Regions from separate parts of the Homo sapiens genome. Here region 1 is linked to region 2. The links are contacts of gene promoters, found by promoter capture Hi-C in human tissues and cell types (Jung and others, 2019). All regions are on one chromosome and are shown on one strand. The core of a region is centred on a gene start or on the middle of the fragment in contact, and the rest is flanking DNA. Distances in the headings are between cores, read along the strand shown.

Evidence for each region. Contacts are between HindIII fragments. The study calls those that stand out against the background at their distance.
Region 1: a contact is called between a fragment that was not itself captured here and the fragment with the promoter of MARVELD3 in region 2, in 2 of the 25 tissues and cell types used here (pancreas and spleen).

What each region holds. Positions count from the first base shown.
Region 1 is chr16:71,507,002-71,509,726 of GRCh38, reverse strand. No RefSeq gene overlaps it. Among named protein-coding and RNA genes, the nearest start is that of CHST4, 18 kb to the left of the region's middle. The HindIII fragment of the contact is 6,114 bases long and covers 1-2,725 here.
Region 2 is chr16:71,624,860-71,627,559 of GRCh38, reverse strand. It overlaps MARVELD3 (MARVEL domain containing 3), which reads right to left and starts at 1,376. Exons shown (of 3, transcript NM_052858.6): 1 at 864-1,376. The coding sequence starts at 1,330. RefSeq lists a silencer at 506-555. The HindIII fragment of the contact is 11,141 bases long and covers 1-2,700 here.

The sequences.
Region 1 (2,725 bases), core at 25-2,524, 120 kb after region 2:
AACATTCAAATTCAGGAAATACAGAGTACACCACAAAGATACTCCTCGAGAAGAGCAACTCCAAGACACGTAATTTTCAGATTCAGCAAAGTTGAAATGAAGGAAAAAATATTAAGGGCAGCCAGATAGAAAGGTCGGGTTACCCACAAAGGGAAGCCCATCAGACTAACAGTGGATCTCTCAGCAGAAACTCTACAAGCCAGAAGAGAGTGGGGGACAGTATTCAACATTCTTAAAGAAAAGCATTTTCAACCCAGAATTTCATATCCAGCCAAACTAAGCTTCATAAGTGAAGGAGAAAAGGAGAAATAAAATCCTTTACAGACAAGCAAATGCTGAGAGATTTTGTCACCACCAGGCCTACCTTACAAGAGCTCCTGAAGGAAGCACTAAACATGGAAAGGAACACCCGGTACCAGCCACTGCAAAAACATGCTAAATTGTAAAGACCATCGATGCTAGGAAGAAACTGCATCAACTAATGAGCAAGATAACCAGCTAACATCATAATGACAGGATCAAATTCACACATAACAATATTAACCTTAGATGTAAATGGGCTAAATGCTCCAATTAAAAGACACAGACTGGCAAATTGGATAGAGTCAAGACCTATCACTATGCTGTATTCAGGAGACCCATCTCACGTGCAGAGACACACATAGGCTCAAAATAAAGGGATGGAGGAAGATCTACCAAGCAAATGGAAAACAAAAAAAGGCAGGGGTTGCAATCCTAGTCTCTGATAAAACAGACTTTAAACCAACAAAGATCAAAGGAGACAAAGAAGGCCATTACATAATGGTAAAGGGATCAATTCAACAAGAAGAGCTAACTATCCTAAATATATATCCACCCAATACAGGAGCACCCAGATTCATAAAGCAAGTCCTTAGAGACCTACAAGAGACTTAGACCCCCACACAATAATAATGGGAGGCTTTAACACCCCACTGTCAATATAAGACAGATCCATGAGCCAGAAAGTTAACAAGGATATCCAGGAATTGAACTCAGCTCTGCACCAAGCAGACCTAATAGACATCTACAGAACTCTCCACCCCAAATCAACAGAATATACATTCTTCTCAGCACCACATCGCACTTATTCCAAAATTGACCACATAGTTGGAAGTAAAGCAGTTCTCAGCAAATGTAAAAGAACAGAAATTATAACAAACTGTCTCTCAGACCACAGTGCAATCAAACTAGAGCTCCAGTCTGGGCAACGAGACTGAAACTCCATCTCAAAAAAAAAAAAAAAATTCGGAGAGAAATTAACTCTGATTATTTTATTGGTTTGAAAATGAGGATCAGAGTGTCCAATTAGGTTATATGGTGGGTATTTTTCATAGGTGAAATGAAATAGATTTCCAAGGCTTTTTAACAAGAATGTATTTAAAACATAGGATGAGATAAAAATATTTTTATTGAAAAAATATTAAATTGGTGATGGTGGTTTGATATAAATATTTTGATTTTCCAGTAGTTTTTGAGTATTATCAACAAGTTAAACAAGGTGTATCTTAAGTGAAAGAATAATAGCAGGCTGATGCACTGTGATCCTAGTGCTTTGGGAGACTGAGGTGGGAAGACTGCTTGAGGCTAGGAGTTCAAGGTGAGCATGGACAACATAGTAAGACCCCATCTCTACAAAAATAAAAATAAGACAATTTAATGGGGCATGGTGGTGCATGCCTGTAGTCCTAGCTACTTGGGAGGCTGAGGCAGGAGAATCACTTGAGCTCAGGAGTTCAAGGCTACAGTGAGCTATGATTGTGCCACTGCACTGCACTCCAGCCTGGGTGATACACAAGACCTTGTCTCAAAAAAAAAAAAAAGAAAGAATAACCAGTATAATTAATTATAATTACCTGCCTCAAAATTAATAATTAATAAGTCTAATTAATAAAGTAAGTCTCAAAATCAATAACTAATTAATATAATAATGATAATTTCTGAAGTTGAGTATACTAGTTTCTAAAAATTAAGAGAGTGGTGACTCTGACAACTAGGGAACAAATTCTTCTGCAGGTTTCCATTTACTGGCTTTCATTAAAATTGAAGAGGAACTCCATTTCATAATGATGGATCCAGGTTGTGTCATTGATAGCTGCTAAAACCATTAGATGGAAAGATAATAACACTGAACCCACTGCACATACCATCTGTGAAGGATTCTTGCCAAAGTATAAAATCTGAATCTGACCAAGTCTTGAGATCTAAAGATCAATTTTCAGGAAATTCAGAGGCCAGAAGAGCATGTTAAACAGTAAGCCAAGGAGATGCAAAGAGACTTAAGAGAAATATCAGCCAAATGCAATTTGTGGGCCTCGTTAGGATCTTGAGTTAAAAAACCAACACTAAAAAAGAAAAGAAAAGAAAGAGAAGAAAAACCAACACTAAAATCTAAACCAAACCAAAACAAAAATATGTGTGAGACAATTAGGGGAAATTTGCACATTAGATGGATATTGAATGACTTGCATTTCTTAGGTGTACTGGTTTATAAGTTATGTTTTCAAAACATCCTTATTTTTAAGAGAGATATATATAGAAGTATTTACAGGTGAAGTAAAAGTGTGTAACCTGGGATTTGCTTCAAAACAGTCCAGCAGTGATGAAGTGGTGTGAGGTGGAGAGGAGATGGGAAAGGTAGAGATGAAACAAGATTGGCCATGGGTTGATGATAACATTGTTGATGCTGGTGATGGGCACATAGGGA
Region 2 (2,700 bases), core at 127-2,626:
CTTTGTTCTTTGGTTAAAAATGTAGCGTCTCCCATCTGACTTTTTTTTTTTTTTTTGAGACGGAGTCTCGCTTTGTCGCCCAGGCTGGAGTGCAGTGGTGCGATCTCGGCTCACTGCAACCTCCGCCTCCCGGGTTCAAGCGATTCTCCCTCCTCAGCCTCCCAAGTAGCTGGGATTACAGGCATCTGCCATCACGCCTGGCTAAGTTTTTGTATTTTTAGTAAAGACGGGGTTTCACCATGTTGGCCAGGCTGGTCTCGAACTCCTGGCCTCAGGTGATCCGCCCGCCTCGGCCTCCCAAAGTGTTGGGATTACAGGCATGAGCCACCGCGCCGGCCCACCTGTTTCTGAAGGCACCTATTCCTGGGAGGGGTAACACATTAAACTATTAACTCTTCATCGGGCTTCCCAAGTGGGCGGCCCGGCCACAAGGAAGGGGACTTTGGAGTCGGGAAGGGCTGGCTCTGGAACACGGGACAAGGGTCTGAACCCCAAGGCGCAGTCCTGTGACCATGCGGGCCGGGCCGGGGAGGAGCCTGGGGTGAACCCCACCCGCCTGGTCTCCTCCCACCCCTCCCTCTCGGGTCCCGGGGCCTCTCTTTCTCTTCTCCAGGTCCTCCAGCCCAGCCACTGCTCACAGGGGTGGTTTTTGCTTTGTTAGTTGGGTTCAGGCCACGAGAAGGGGGAACCCTAAAGTTTTCCTTCCCTGCCAGGTCGCCTCTGAGAGCGCAGAAGGGAGAAACGGCATTTGTTCATTTAAACGGGCTCCTAGGACGAGAACCCGGGGACGCCAGGGCCTCGCGGGCCGGCCTGGGCCACAGGTGTCCCCGGCGCGGAGGTCGCAGCGCCCCGGCCCCTCTCACCTTTCGGGTCTGCGGCGCCCGGGGTCTCCCTTCCTCTGCGGCTGCGGCGGCTCCGGGGCTTCCCAGGGCGCGGGCCCAGGAGGCGCGGCTGCGTCCCAGGTCAGTCCCCGGGCTCCGTCCCGCGTCCGGCTTTGGCGCGGTTTTTCCCAAACTCCGTGTTCACCTGCGCGAGGGCCCGCGTCCCTGTGTGTGTCCCGGCGGGGGCCTCGGTCCGGGTCTCTTTCCCTCTCTCTCTCCCTCTCCCGGTCCCGGTTCCGGTCGCGGTTCCCGTCCCTCTCCTGGTCTCTCTCCGGGTCCCGGTCCCCGTCCCTTCGCCGGTTCCCGTCGCTGCTTCGCTTCCTGCGCGGGTCCCCGGGTCGGTCCCGCGGTCGATCGTGGGTGCGGCCTTGGTCTGGGTGGGGGCGCCGTCCCGGGTCCCGCTCTCTCGGCCGGGCCCGGGGCTCGCGAGCCCCCGACGGATCTTCCATGGCCGGGTTCCGTGTCCCCGCCCGGGAGCGACCTGAGGGCAACAACCAACAAGTTTCTTGGGCAGGTGGCCAAGCCCGGGGGCGGGGCGGGCACTCACCTGTGCGCATGCGCGCTAGTCCGGGAGCTCACCTGAGAACGGGCGCCCTCAGGGGGCGGCCTGAGCGCGTCTGGGGCCCGGGCGGGAGGGGTGCCTGTGTGCTGGGTGGGGGCTGGGGTGCTGCTGCTGGAAACCCGGGCGGGGCGACCCACAGCCGCACCTTTCTGCCCCGAAGTAACCCCTTGGTGACCCCACGAGGTGGGCGGCCTAAGGGAGCCAACTGTGGCCACCTCCCCTGGCTCAACTTACACTGCAACTTGGATTTACCTTCCCAGAGGTACCCATCCTCTCACTCACTCAGCCAGACACTCATTCATTCACCCAATCACCCACTACCCGCTCATCCATTCACCCACCCATCCACCCACTCACCCACCCATCCACCCACTCACCCACCCATCCACCATCCATCCACCCATCCACCCACTCACCCACCCGTCCAACCATCCACCCATTCAACCACTCACCCATCCATACACCCGTCTATCCACCTATCCACCTACTCACCTACCCATCTAACCATCCACCCATCCATCCATCTATCCACCCACTCACCCACCCATCCACCACCCATCTACCCGCCCACTCACCTGCCCATCCGCCCACCCACCCACCCTCCATCCATCCATCCACCCATCCACCCACTCACCCACCCATCCACCCACCCATCTACCATCCGCCCACTCACCCACTCACCTGCCCATCCATCCACCCACTCACCTAACCATCCACTCTCACCCACCCATCCACCATCCATCCACCCACCCATTCACTCATCCACCCATCCACCCACCCACTCACCCACCCATCTACCAACTCACCCATCCATCCACCCATTCATCCACCCACTCACCCATCCAGCCACCCACCCACGCATCCACCCATCCACCATTCATCCACTCACCCATTCATCCATCCATCTGGCCACTAACCTACCCACACATCCACCCAGTCACCCACCTTCCACTTCTCCCTCCACCCATCCACTGTCCCTCTTTCTCCCTTCTCCTGTTTTCCTTATAACACCTATGTTGTAAGGGGCTTGCAGCCAGTTCATCTATCACAATAGTCCTGGGCTTACAAATAGCCCTGTTTTTTAAAATGGGGACTTACACAAAATTGGCAGCTTTTAATTCTGCCAAGTAAGGATATTACAAAATATATACAATTGCCATCTGGTAATTAATTCTTTCAGCAAATATGTATGAGCACCTGCTTTAGCAGGTACTGGAGATATAGTGGAAAATTTGCTTGCAGGGTGATTGCATTCTA